5 separate regions of the Homo sapiens genome follow, and all the other regions are linked to region 1. The links are contacts of gene promoters, found by promoter capture Hi-C in blood cells and fetal thymus (Javierre and others, 2016). All regions are on one chromosome and are shown on one strand. Each heading gives the region's core, a stretch centred on a gene start or on the middle of the fragment in contact. The rest is flanking DNA. Distances are from core to core; before and after follow the strand shown. Region 1 holds the start of NDUFS1 (NADH:ubiquinone oxidoreductase core subunit S1). Region 2 holds the start of FAM117B (family with sequence similarity 117 member B). Region 3 holds the start of WDR12 (WD repeat domain 12). Region 4 overlaps NBEAL1 (neurobeachin like 1). Region 5 has its middle 9.6 kb from the start of NBEAL1.

Region 1 (2,700 bases), core at 80-2,579:
ACCACGCCCAGCTAATTTTTTGTATTTTTAGTAGAGACAGGGTTTCACCGTGTTAGCCAGGATGGTCTCGATCTCCTGGCCTCGTGATCCGCCCGCCTCGGCCTCCCAAAGTGGTGGGATTACAGGAGTGAGCCACCGCCTCCGGCCTTCAATAGCTTAACAGGTCACCAAGCTTCCACACTATTCCCACACAGCCTCTCCCCTCTTGCCACCGGCTGTGACCTCAGACTGAAATGCTCTTCCCTGGCCCCTCCTTATCCTTCAAATCTTGGCTTAAAAGCCTTTTCTCAGTTTCATTGACCAGGCTATCTAACATTTACGATTCCCCCAGCATATCATCCATTTTATTCTTCTTTACGGACTCATTTCTGGCTCGTAGTAAATGTTCAATAACGGTTAAGTGAACTGAATCTCTAATTTCTGGTCGTTAATTTGTAGAGACCACTTTCCCGGATTTAAAAAGTGCAGGTGCTCTGGCAGCCTTAAGTCGGTGAAAACAAGAATATTCCGCAAAACAAAAATAACTTGTTTATTCATCAAAAACAGTTAACGTTACACTTCTATACCGTCAATTCGTGTGTGAACAGAGTTGTGTCTGATCCAAGACCTTACAGTTCAAGCACTGGATCCCAATAACCTGTAAACAACGTTTTGTTATTTGCAATGCAATCCTGGGCTAACTTTTCAAAAGTCGTTTTTCTCAATTTCCCGTTAGTTAAAGGAATAAAAAAATGCTGTCCAACGTGGTCAATGGACCAAACAAACAAGGACAACAAACAGAAGCGTGAGCCATTGCTAACACAACAGCGACCAAACAATCATGCACTGTATCAGGCGTGTAAAAATCTGGGGGGAAAGGCTTAGTCTTAAGGCCTAAGTCATCGGACACTGGTCCTCTCCCGGGGAATAAAACGGCCTCCTCCTCTGAGAGGGAAATGTCCTGAATTTTCCCTGCAGAGGGAAGGTCACCTGCAAGCCTACATTCGTGACAGCGTTCCCGAGGACCCCCTGATCCTCATCTTCTTTTCTGCTTCATCAGACCAGAGACCGTGGCTAAAAGCCCCCCATCTGCCGGCTCTCAGGGGCTTCCGAGGCGGCGGGGCGGGAGGCGGCGCCCAGTCAAGGACAACAGAAGACTACGTCGCGTGGGCCAAAGGAAACAGTCCCGTCAATAAATAAGCCTCTGGCCGACGCACCTCACCCTTCCCATCCATACAAGACCTCACCTTCTCCCCGGAGCCGCGGAGGCTGTTCTGCTAAACTGTCTGGACCACGACGACCCCCTAGGAGGCCGGGTCGCTTATTCAATATGGCGGCCTCGGCTAACTCTGTCAGCCGGGCCTGGAGAACGGAAAGCCCGGAGGGACTAGAATCCTTGCATTCGACAAGTTTGTCGGCAATTTCCGTCAGCCGACCAGAGGGCGGAGCTGAGGTCGGCCCAGCCCGGAGGCGGGAAGGACAACTTGGACCCGCAGTTCCGCCGGAAGTGGCCCCAGCCTCGAGGCCGGGCGTCTTCGGTCATCTCCGGCGCTTCTAGGGCTGGTTCCCGTCATCTTCGGGAGCCGTGGAGGTACGAACTTAAGACATGCCTATTTTATTAATTTACTTCCAAACGCAACGAAAGGTCCATGGACAATTTGTGGGCCATTTAATTCAGGGCCCCCAATTCGTACGTGGAGAAGTGGGAATGCAAAAGTACTTTGACCTTTAACCTTCGGTCCGGCGCGGTGGAGGGAAACGCCTCCGTCTCTATATAAGGAATTTTCCGGTCTCTTCGGGTCCTTTTTCCTCTCTTCAGCGTGGGGCGCCCACAATTTGCGCGCTCTCTTTCTGCTGCTCCCCAGCTCTCGGATACAGCCGACACCATGGGTTTCGGAGACCTGAAAAGCCCTGCCGGCCTCCAGGTGCTCAACGATTACCTGGCGGACAAGAGCTACATCGAGGGGTGAGCGGACGGGCTGAGTCGGGGTGGCGGGGAGGTTTCTCCGCCCGGGGCCGGGGCCACGTGGCGCAGCGTGTCGGCTGCCGCGGGAGGGAGGGAGGCCGGGCCCGGGGCCCTTTCGAGAGGGAGGGGAAAGCGCCCCGTTGCCGTCTCCCAAGGCCCTCGTGTGGGGCGAGCCCGGCCTCCGGGGAGCGGTTCACGAGCAAGGAAAGGTTAAAATGTGCTTTATTTACACTTAATTCAGCCAGGTGTTTCCGCATCGCTGCCCAGTTAATACATGTTAAGCTGTAGATAGAGCAACGCCAGACATTGCAGTATTTGAGGTCTACTTAGTGGCAGACATTTCTCAGGATAGCGCGGTGACCCAAACATATGGTTTGATTTGAAGGAGCTAATAAGAAAAGAAAAGCATTAAAGCAACCCTGCTGGGGTTAGTGCCCACTAATTAATGTGATGCATACGGTATTTATTATTTATTCGCTGGCGTTTGTTTTTCAAAGGTGTGTGTGAATGTTTCTGTGTCCTTGGCAGGTATGTGCCATCACAAGCAGATGTGGCAGTATTTGAAGCCGTGTCCAGCCCACCGCCTGCCGACTTGTGTCATGCCCTACGTTGGTATAATCACATCAAGTCTTACGAAAAGGAAAAGGCCAGGTAAAATCATCTTTGTATAGAGCTGAAGAATAAGACTGCTCTCGAAGTTTATCAGGATGTTCACATGACAAAACTGGACCCAGGCTACTTTAGTTTTGTTGGGA
Region 2 (2,700 bases), core at 185-2,684, 3.5 Mb before region 1:
CACGCCTGTAATTCCAGCATTTTTGGAGGCCGAGGTGGGCGGATCATGAGATCAAGAGATCAAGACCACCCTGGCCAACATGGTGAAACCGCCTCTTTACTAAAAACAGAAAAATTACGGGGCGTGGCGGCACGCGCCTGTAATCCCAGCTACTTGGGAGGCGGAGGCAGGAGAATTGCTTGAACGCGGGAGGCGGAGGTTGCACTGAGCCGAGATTCGAGCCAGTGCACTCCGCCACTGCACTCCAGCCTAGGTGACAGAGAGAGACTTCTTCTCAAAAAAAAAAAAAAAAGGCCTTCCACCACCGCGCAAAGGGACCCAGTAGGATTTCAGGTCCAGAGTGAATCATACTATGCCCTCCACTCCCACATTTTTACACGACGAAATCTGTCTAGCATGTACAACTAATAAAAATAGTAGAGGGAAAAGAGGTCATGGATAGGCAATTTATAGCCAGACAGGTGGGAGTGTAGGTTTTGGCTCCACCATTTTTTATTTTCTTGATGAGGAGCCCTTTAGGTCATTTTAGAAATAGTGTCACTGCCTGCCTTCCCGAGTCTTTGCCACACCAAAGACTTGTTTCCTCCGCTAGACAAAAATATGGATGGCTGTCCCAGTTCTGTCTCAAACAATGATCGTGTAGAATCAAATAAGGCCCTCTGTAAACTATAGCACTTTACAAACTGGTAAGGTAGCAGCCATCCTTCCAAGGTATCAGGGAACAGCGAAGCAGCTGATTAAAATAGTCTTGATTACTTGAGATACAGGAGGGTAGGAATAACATGTGGTAACTGAACTCTATAGATACTATCTAAAATCGCATTCTAACAGGCAAGTTTAATCTTTCTGAGATTTGCCTCTTTGTAGAGCTCTAAAAAATAAAAGGAGAGGGGCGTAAAATGCCAGTAAGATTAGTTAAATTTCTTCTCCTTTTGAGCCCTGCCCATAGGTAGATGGAATTAGGGCAGAACAAAAACATTAAGAATAAAAGCCCGAACGAGATGCGCGTACAGGTGAACACAAGTGAACACTGGGGTAAGGAAATGAGTTATGCGGAAAAGGCTTCAGACCATCCCTGGGAACTGCTCCGGGTCTGGACATTTCCTTTGGCAACCTTCCAGAGTCTGAGTCCCCAGGGCTCCCCCCGGCGGGAAAGGAAAGGCGCGCGTGGCTAGGCGCGCGCGTACACGGGCACTCACGTGTACACACACACGCGCGCACACTACACATACACACAGGGCCCATTTCCTCCGCTCCCTCCCCGCGGGGGGCGGGTCTCTTTCTCTTTAAAGAGCAGACGGTCTCCGCGCACACCCAGGCTCTCAAGGCCTCGGGGGCCCGGGACCCGAGCTGCTCGTAGCCAATGGGAGCAGTGGAGCGGCTCGAGCGCGGCTGACGCTGCACCAATGGGCGATCGTGGGGGGCGGGGGCAGCAGAGGAGACACTATTGTTGATGAGGAGCGGCGGCGGCGGCGGCGGCGGCTGCACCACCTCGTTGCTGCCTGCCCCGGCCCGGTCTCCCCCTGCACCCCGGAGTCCGGCTTCGTCACCCCGTCTTGGGGGGCCTGCCCTCCGGCCTCGAGAATCCTCCCCCTGCAGCCCAACAACAACAAAACCCCCCGTCTCGCCCAGTCACCGGGGAGGGGGGGGACCATGTCCCAGCGGGTGAGGCGCAATGGGTCCCCCACGCCGGCCGGCTCCCTTGGGGGTGGTGCGGTGGCCACGGCCGGGGGACCCGGGAGCCGCTTGCAGCCCATGAGGGCGACGGTTCCGTTCCAGCTGAAGCAGCAGCAGCAGCAGCAACATGGCAGCCCCACGCGGAGCGGCGGCGGCGGCGGCGGCAACAACAACGGTGGCTGCTGTGGTGGCGCCTCAGGCCCCGCAGGCGGCGGCGGCGGCGGTGGCCCGCGCACCGCCTCGCGCAGCACCAGCCCCACGCGCGGCGGCGGGAACGCGGCCGCGCGCACCAGCCCCACGGTGGCCACGCAGACGGGCGCGTCCGCGACGTCCACGCGAGGCACCAGCCCCACGCGCAGCGCCGCGCCTGGAGCTCGCGGGAGCCCCCCACGGCCGCCGCCGCCGCCGCCGCTGCTGGGCACCGTGTCGTCGCCCAGCTCGTCGCCCACCCACCTGTGGACCGGCGAGGTGAGCGCGGCCCCACCCCCAGCCCGCGTCCGGCATCGGAGGAGGTCTCCGGAGCAGAGCCGAAGCTCGCCGGAGAAGAGGAGCCCCAGCGCCCCGGTTTGCAAAGCAGGTAAGTGCTGGGGGTCGCGCAGCAAGGGGGAGGCGGCTGCGGGAAGGGGTCCCGGGCGCGCGCTGCAATCGCGCGGGGACTGCAGAGCTGCCGCGGAGCCCGGGTGGCTGGGGGCGGGGCTGGGGGCGGTGCCGGGCGGTGGGGGACCCGGCAGTGCGGCCCCGCCTTTCCCGGGCCTACCCTACGCCCCGCCCGCCCGCCCGCCTCATTCACCCCTCTGCCCGCCCCGCACGGCTCCCTGGTGGTGGAGGTGCAGCGGCTAAACCTTGGGCTTGAGCTGATGAGTGTTAATGATAAACCTGGCTTCCTGGCCTTACTCCTGGAGGAGTCGTTACTGCTTACCCTCCCTTGAGGGTGAGGCTAGGAGTGGTTTGTCACTTTGTTTTAGGGACAAGGTTAATGTTGGCATAGCCCATATCTGCTGCTGCTAAGTATTTCTGTTCACA
Region 3 (2,700 bases), core at 57-2,556, 3.2 Mb before region 1:
ACAAAAATTAGCCAGGCTTGGTGGCACATGCCTGTAATTCCAGCTACTCTGGAGGCTGAGGCGGGAAGATTGTTTGAACCCGGGAGACAGAGGTTACAGTGAGCCAAGATCCCACCACTGCAGTCCAGCCTGGGCAACAGAGTGAGACTCTGTCTCCAAAAAAACCAAACCAAACAAACAAAAAAAAGCCCCACATATTTCAAAAAATTTTATTTTAAGAAAAACAAAAAAACCTACTTTCAATTAAAAAACACAGTGGTTATGTTAATGCATCACCACATTCCTAGAGAAGTATTAAGGCAATGTATGTAAGTAAGTACATATACTCAGGTGCATTGATAATACGATTTATGTATACTTTCAGCAACAACACAAGGGGAGAGAAGATGATTTACTAGCTCTCCTCATAAAGCTACAAACAAAACCACAGATGTAACTCAGGTGGGAGTTTCCTAGTTTATGGCTAACTTTAGCTTATTAACACGACAAATATTATCATTTTCACTGAAAAATTTGACATTTTTTGTTGACTCAGCCAATCCAAGAAGCTTAATTAATATATAGTCCCTGCCCTCAAGAGACTTCCAATATAGTTGGAAGAGACCAGGCAAACACAAAGAAAGCTAACAATGCAATATATACCACAAGGCAGCATATAATTAGTTTTCGAATGAGTGCTAACAGACCTTGAGACCACTGGTTAAAATGTTTATATATCTATATAGATATACATAAATGGTAAATATGTTTTTTCATTTTCAAAAACTTTTTTTCCGTTTTCAAAAACTGTGAACCACCACTAGCAGACACCCTATAACAAGGCCCACTGTTCATTTTTAAATTACACATATAAAATGTTTCATTCAGAAAGCAAACCTGAAGCCCTTCAGCCTCCTCCACACTCACAATTCAAATTATATAGAACCTACGAAGCTGGTTAGAAAGCAGGTAATCTCAGAAAAAAGGGTGGGGGTGACAGCAGAAACAACCAGGGATCCACAAGGTCATACCAAAGGGGTGGTCGGAAAGGAACCTGGGGAAGGGAGAGAAGGCTGGAACGCTTACTTACTTCTTGTTATCAGTGTAGAAGCGTGTTTGGAGCTGAGCCATGGCGAGGAGTACACACGACTTGCCCACGGAAACGTACGGGTTAGCAGACCCACAACACGAAGCTCCTGCCTTTTAAGACTACAAAGAGGCAGCTCAAAATTAGACTGCACAGGTAAGCGAGGAACTGCAGTCTAAGCCTGGACTCTGCCTTCTGCCCTCCGGTCTCCTCTGCAGAAAGCACGAGGTTGCCCTTCTACAGACGCCCAGACCACAAACATCGACTACCTACTCCTAGATTTAGGAGTCATCGATTAGAAAAGGATAGTCGTAAAGGTAGCATGTCCCTTTAATCATTGTTAGAATTCTTCCCATACGTGTGGGCCCGTAATCGATTAGGAAAAAGATCCCACTCAAATCCGCTTTATTAATAAAAAATTTTTTTTCAAGAGGCTGTCCTGAGCCTGGATAGTTCAAACACAGCTCCTAGTTACTACAAGTCTCAGAAAGCATCGCTTCTCAAACGCTGTGACCACCGGGAATTGTAGTCTTTTTTTGCCACGCTGCCCTCAGAGTATCTTATTTGCATTAAATCCTCTAGACTCCAGCCAGATATCAAATTTCCTCTGCCTTCAGCTTTGCTTGACTAACGCCTTGCCAGTTTTTTTTTCTCATACATATTCCCAACCAGAGGCTCACTCGGCAGAGGTTTTTCCTAAATCTCGCCTCTAACTGCGGCTTTTAGAGAGAGGCGAGAGGCGGAAATACAAAGAAAAGAACGGATGAGAGAGGAAACGGTCGACGGTGGCCGATAGTGGTCCTACTGTCGTGGGACTGCTCTGCGCGCTCCCGGTGGGGCGCGCCTGCGCATTATGCTGGTCTCCATGGCGGGGCCTCGGAGCCAAGACGAGGTTGAGTAGACTCGTTTTGAATTTTCTCCCCTCTGCTCCGGCGGACTTCCCATGTCGCCTTGTGGGGCTATCGGCGGCGGCAGGACTGGGGGAGTCAGAGGTCTGGCAGCGCTGTCTGCGCAGACCTACCGGACGCTACCTCCCAACCCCCCGTCTTCCTCCTGCCTCCTCCTCCTCCCGTCACCTCCTGACCCGCCGGAGCTCCGAGCAACTGCCGGCCTCCGCCCCCAGCCGCAGCCGGTCACTGGCGGCGCCTTCCGCGCCAAGCTTGGGGGCCTTTTCGGGGTCCCACATGGCACGGCTTCCGACCCCCGGCCCGGGACGGGGCTCGCAGGCCCCAGAGGGGCAGGCTGGAGAAGGAGGAGGTTAGGTGTCTTCAGGAGGGTTGCTGAGCCCAAGGACGCGCCATCGCCGCGGAGAAGGAGCCGGACCCCTTGGGCGGAGCGCCCAATGTGTGGTCCCTCACGCCGTCCCGCACCTTGCTTTTTAGGGTTCTTTTTCCGCTTTCTGAGCCCTTTTATACCTTACGTTTAGAAGGGGAAAATCATCCTCCCACACCTTCTCCCCGACTTTTTGCCTTTTTTGTCTTGAAGTTACCCAAAGGCCTGTGTATTGTTCTCAATGGTCCCAAGAATTACTCTAATATAGTTGTTTTTCTGAGGGAGGATGGATGGAGATAACTATCCTGATCCCAATGTCACTTTTTAAGGCATTCGCTTCAAGAGACAAGCAGTTTAGAATC
Region 4 (2,700 bases), core at 171-2,670, 3.1 Mb before region 1:
AATTTTGGTTATAATCCTAAATAAGTTTTTAGTAAGATGGACCAATACATATCAACCCTTATAATTTAAGCCACATTTAGTAAGTCTCTGGTATGTGCAAAGTGTGAAAATGGCTCTTGATTTTCTGTGGCTTAATAACAGCTTTGTATGTAAGGAAGGTAATGTTCTTTGACTCTAAAGAAAAGAAAACAAAATCATTGACAGCCTAGTACTAGTAGTTACCACTTACATGTTTATTTTCAGAATTTAGGTATGAAAGCAAGAAATGTATAGTTTATATCAGTGGACCTGAAATGAAAAACGTTGTTAAGATGCATTAACTTTTTAAATTCTTTCCTTTTGAGCATCAAACTTTAAATTTCCCTGGAAGAAGGTGAAATTGATAGTACTTAAGTGTAAGTGTGGAGTATAATGTGCAGATGTGTAAGAGTCTGAAATAATTTCTTGTGTGTTTTTTTTTTTTCTGTTTGTTTCGGACAAAAAAAAACACCGTGGTCTTCCCATGCACAGTTAGCTAGACAAGATCACTAACTAGGTTTTCAGGTAAGCATGCTGACTTTTCCATGTTTGTGGGACATTCAGGTAGAAATACTCAATATGTGGAGTTCAGAAGAGAGGTCTGTGCTGGAAATAAAGATTTGAGAGTTCTCATATTGGGAATTATTGGAGGGTTATTATGAGAATAAGAAGAGAAGAAGGTAAAAGGAAGCCCTGAAGAACATTGTCATTTAAGAAGAAGACAGAGTTTTGGAACCAGTCTGGGCAAAACAGTGAGATCACGTCTCTGTTATTTAAATAAATAAATAAATAGGTGACAGAGGAAGAAGAGTTTGTAAGTTTAAATGAGAGAGGAGCCAGGAGTGACTGGGTTGCCTCAGAAAGTACAGGGATATTGGCTGGGTGCAGTGGCTCATGCCTATAATTCTAGCTCTTTGGGAGGGCAGGGTGGGAGATTTGCTTGAGCTCGGGAGTTTCAGTCTACAGTGAGCTGGGATCATGCCACTCTAGTCCAGCCTGGGTGACAGAGTAAGACTCTTTCTCACACAAAAAAAAAAAAAGAAAAAAAGAAAAAAGTAGTCAGGGGTGTCAAATTCAACATGGCAGTCAAGAAAAGTATTACGGTCCGCATCTGGTGGTTCACACCTGTAATCCCAGCATTTTGGGAGGCCAAGGTGGGAGGATCATTTGAGGTCAGGAGTTTGAGACCAGCCTGGCCAACATGATGTAACCTCATCTCTACTGAAAATACAAAAGTTAGCTGGGTGGGGTGGCATGCACCTGTAATCGCAGCTACTTAGGAGGCAAGAGAATCACTTGAATCCAAGAGGCCGGGGTTGCAGTGGGTCAAATTTGTGCCACTGCACTCCAGCCTGGGCAATAGAGTGAGACTCTGTCTCAAAAAAAAAAAAAGAAAAAAAGAAAAGCATTATGGAGCATGTATTGGATTTGACAGTTTACATATTATTGGCGGCCTGAGGTGGGCAGATCACTTGAGGCCAGGAGTTCGAGACTAGCCTGGCCAAAATGGTGAAACCCGTCTCTACTAAAAATACAAAAATTAGCTGTGTATGGTGGTGCAGGCCTGTGGTCCCAGCTACTCAGGAGGCTGAGGCAGGAGAATCGCTTGAACCTGGGGGGCGGAGACTGTAGTGAGCCGAGATCGCACCACTGTACTCCAGTCTGGGCAACAGAGCGAGACTCTGTCTGAAATAAATAAATAAATAAATACATACATACATACATAAATTGATGGCTTTTCCAAAAGCAGTTCTGAAAAGAATGAAAAAGTTAAAAATGCAAGTCCTTATATTATTAATTTTTTATTATTAAATTCAACAGACTTAAAATTACTACCAAACTGCTACTAAAGTTTGTAGATAGATGTTTCCTCTTTATCTTTGTACTAACCTGGCCAAGGACCTTTATTGGTCTGTGTACCACACTTTGTGTGGCACTGCTGTAGAACATCTGAAAATTCTCAGATACCTTAGAATCCATCTGTAAATCCAGAGATCTGTAATTTGAAACATATTGCTTTATAAATTGAACTGTCACTGATGATCCCTTGGTAGCAATCCAAATGTGACCTTTGAAATCGAGTAGCAATACTAGTCGCGAGGTAGTTTTCCCTAATATGCTTAAAGTAATTTAAAAATTAATAAAAACAGGAGTGCAAACTTTAAAAATTTCTATATGGAGCTTATAGACCTCTGAAAATATTTCTGATAACTCCGAGCATTCTCGGACCTTAGTTTTAGAAACAAGTCTTGAACAATTATTATATCTGAAATACTTTGATTGCTCTACATTTGCTACAGCTTTTTTTTCCTTTCTGCAAAATTACGTTGCAAGTTTTGTTACAAGCAAGTAAAGAATTGGGACCAAAGATCCAATCTACTGCAGTCTTCTTTCTAGGCACAATTATTCATATTTCTCCTATATGCAAAATGTACTTCATATCTATCTCAAGAACTCCAAAACTCTCATCCAATCATGACACCAGTCTTGAAACATGGGATCTGTGGTATATATAGATCCAATTGTGGTTTTTCTTGATATTATGGTCTGTGAACTCAGAGGACACTTGGTATCTGTCCTCTGCAAATCCAGTTGGGCAAATATTGCCTGGTTTCTCTATCCTCAGGGAAGAAATGTTCCATGATATGAGTCAGTACCTGCCCTGGCTACTCTTCTCTCTTG
Region 5 (2,700 bases), core at 173-2,672, 3.2 Mb before region 1:
TCAAGAAAAAATTACAGGCCGGGCCCAGTGGCTCACGCCTATAATCCCAGCAGAGGTGGGTGGATCACCTGAGGTCAGGAGTTGGAGACCAGCCTGGGCAACATGGTGAAACCCTGTCTCTACTGAAAAACAAAAACAAAAACAAAAATTAGCCGGGTGCGGTGGCACGTGCCTGTAATCCCAACTACTCGGGAGGCTGAGGCAGGAGAATTGCTTGAGCACGGGAGGCGGAGGTTGCGGTGAGCCAAGATTGTGCCATTACACTCCAGCCTGGGTTACAGAGTGAGACTCCATCTCAAAAAAAAGAAAAGAAAAAATTATTACAAAGCATCCTAAAAGGCAAAAAACAACCTGAAGACATAAGGCAAAGATCAGAACCAAATTCATATAAGACAGGCATGTTGAAATTACCAGACTGAGAATTTAAAACAACTATGATTAATATGCTAAGGGCTCTAATGGATAAAGCAGACAGCATGCAAGAACGGATGGGCAATGTAAGCAGAGATGTAAATTCTAAGAAAGAATTTTTAAAATGCTACAGATCAAAAACACTATAACAGAAATGAAGAATCCTCCTTAGTAGACTGAATGAAGATGAGCTCATTAGTAAACTGGACATGGCTAAGAGAACATTTCTGAGTTTGAGAATATGTCAATAGAAACCTCCAAAATGGAAAAGCAAAGAGAAAAAAGACAGAATAAAATGATTCAGAACATCCAAGAACTGTGGAATAACTACAAAAGGTATAAATGTGTGTGATAGGAATACCAGAAGGAAAAAAAAGGAAGCGAAGCATATTTCAAGCAACAGTGACAGAGAATCTTCCCAAATTGGCAATAGACACCAAACCAGAGATCCAGAAAGCACAGAGAACACCAAGCAGGATAAGTGGTTTAAAAAAACTACACCTAGGCTATCATTTTCAAATTACAGAAAATCAAAGATAAAGAGAAAATCCTGAAGGAAGCCAGAGGAAAACAAACAGCTTTCTATGCAGGAGCAAGATAAGGATTATATCCAACTTCTCATCAGAAATCATGCAATCAAGAAGACAGTGGAGTAAAACATTTAACATATTGAGAGAAAAAAAAAAAACACCAGCCTAGAATTCTGTATCCCATAAGATTATCATATAAAAGTGAAACACAAAGACTTTCTCAGATGAACAGAACAATATTTGAGGGAATTTGTTGCCAACAGACCTTCCTTATAAGAAATAATTAAAAGAACTTCTTGAGAAAGAAGGAAAATGACACATAGGTCAGAAACTCTCTGCATAAATAAATGAAGAGCATCAGAGAAATAATAAGTGAATATAAAATATAAACTCTTATTTTTCTTATTCTCAGTTAATCTAACAGACAACAGTTTGTTCAAAATAATACTAGGCAACAATGTAATTGTGTGTGTGTGTATACACACAATTGCTTAGGTGTAAGTGAATGGCAGAAATGACATAAGGAACAGGAGAGAGGAATTAGGAATGATTAGGAATGTTTTGTGATAAGGTTCTTGCAATATCTGTGAATTGGTATAGTGCTATTGGAAAGTGAACTTGGAGTAGTTGTAAATGTATACTGCAAACTCTAGGACAACCACTAAATAAGGTAGGAAAAAAAAAAAAGAGTAAAACTGGGCCGGGCACAGTGGCTCACACCTGTAATCCCAGCACTTTGGGAGGCCAAGGTGGGTGGATCACCTAAGGTCAGGAGTTCGAGACCAGCCTGGCCAACATGGGGAAACCCCATCTCTACTAAAAATACAAAAATTAGCTGGGCATTGTGGTGGGCGCCTGTAATCCCAGCTACTTGGGAGGCTGAAGCAGAATTGTTTGAACCTGGGAGGCAGAGGTTGCAGTGAGCCGAGATCGCGCCACCACACTCCAGCCTGGGTGACAAGAGCAAAACTCCGTCTCAAAAAAAAAAAAAAAGGTAAAACTGATATGCTACAAAAGTAGAGGAAATGGAATCATATTAAATAATTAAGATTTTAAAAGGCACTGGCCGAGTGCCATGGCTCATGCCTATAATCCCACCACTTTGGGAGGCCAAGGTGGGAGGGTCATTTGAATCCAGGAGTTCAAGACCAGCCTGAGCAACATAGCAAGACCCTGTCTCTACAAAAAATACAAAAGTTAACTGGGCATGGTGGAGTGTGCCTGCAGTGCCAAATACCTGGGAGGTGGAGGTGGGCAGATCACTCGAGCCAAGGAGTTTGAGATTGCAGTGAGCCATGATCATGCCACTGCATTCCAGCCTATGCAACAAAGACCCTGTCTCAAAAAAAAAAATTTAAAAAAAAAATATATATATATGTAAAAGGCAGAAAAAGAGTGAAAGACAAAAATAGGAACAAAGAATAAGTACAATGTATAGGAAACAGTAATGAATATGGTATACATCAATCCAACTATGTCAATAATCACTTTATATGTTAATGGTCTAAATATGTCATTTAAAAGACATAATGGATCAAAAAACAAGACCCAATTATATATTATCTACAAGAAACCCACTTTAAATATAAAAACACATATAGATTAAAAGTAAATGGGTAAAGAAAAACATACCACGTTAATACTAATCAAAAGAAAGAGGAAGTAAACATATTAATTTCAGACAGAGCAGACTTCAGAACAAGGAAAGTTATCAGTGATAAAGAGGACCATTACATAATGATAAAGGGGTCATTTCTCC

The links. Contacts are between HindIII fragments. The CHiCAGO score rates a contact against its expected background, and 5 or more counts as called.
Region 2: a contact is called between the fragment with the promoter of FAM117B here and the fragment with the promoter of NDUFS1 in region 1, in 1 of 17 cell types (total CD8 T cells). The highest score is 6.4, in total CD8 T cells.
Region 3: the fragment with the promoter of WDR12 here is called in contact with the fragment with the promoter of NDUFS1 in region 1 in 1 of 17 cell types (activated CD4 T cells); the score reaches 5.1 in activated CD4 T cells.
Region 4: a fragment that was not itself captured here is called in contact with the fragment with the promoter of NDUFS1 in region 1 in 1 of 17 cell types (neutrophils); the score reaches 5.3 in neutrophils.
Region 5: a fragment that was not itself captured here is called in contact with the fragment with the promoter of NDUFS1 in region 1 in 1 of 17 cell types (neutrophils); the score reaches 6.4 in neutrophils.

The regions. Positions count from the first base shown.
Region 1 is chr2:206,158,115-206,160,814 of GRCh38, forward strand. It overlaps NDUFS1 (NADH:ubiquinone oxidoreductase core subunit S1), which reads right to left and starts at 1,330. Exons shown (of 19, transcript NM_005006.7): 1 at 1,227-1,330. EEF1B2 (eukaryotic translation elongation factor 1 beta 2) reads left to right here and starts at 1,781. Exons shown (of 6, transcript NM_001959.4): 1 at 1,781-1,945; 2 at 2,474-2,596. The coding sequence starts at 1,866. RefSeq lists enhancers at 1,008-1,417, 1,528-1,787 and a silencer at 2,048-2,117. The HindIII fragment of the contact is 3,079 bases long and covers 171-2,700 here.
Region 2 is chr2:202,633,535-202,636,234 of GRCh38, forward strand. FAM117B (family with sequence similarity 117 member B) reads left to right here and starts at 1,435. Exons shown (of 8, transcript NM_173511.4): 1 at 1,435-2,254. The coding sequence starts at 1,654. RefSeq lists silencers at 1,473-1,702, 1,893-1,942, 2,043-2,482. The HindIII fragment of the contact is 4,588 bases long and covers 1-2,700 here.
Region 3 is chr2:202,910,367-202,913,066 of GRCh38, forward strand. It overlaps WDR12 (WD repeat domain 12), which reads right to left and starts at 1,307. Exons shown (of 13, transcript NM_018256.4): 1 at 1,070-1,307. The coding sequence starts at 1,110. It overlaps CARF (calcium responsive transcription factor), which reads left to right and starts at 1,909. Exons shown (of 17, transcript NM_024744.17): 1 at 1,909-2,700. RefSeq lists enhancers at 1,490-1,639, 1,650-1,799, 1,840-2,039, 2,140-2,189. The HindIII fragment of the contact is 1,677 bases long and covers 547-2,223 here.
Region 4 is chr2:203,023,155-203,025,854 of GRCh38, forward strand. All of the region lies in intron 2 of NBEAL1 (neurobeachin like 1), which reads left to right. Among named protein-coding and RNA genes, the nearest start is that of NBEAL1, 9.6 kb to the left of the region's middle. The HindIII fragment of the contact is 9,447 bases long and covers 1-2,700 here.
Region 5 is chr2:203,003,923-203,006,622 of GRCh38, forward strand. No RefSeq gene overlaps it. Among named protein-coding and RNA genes, the nearest start is that of NBEAL1, 9.6 kb to the right of the region's middle. The HindIII fragment of the contact is 7,735 bases long and covers 1-2,700 here.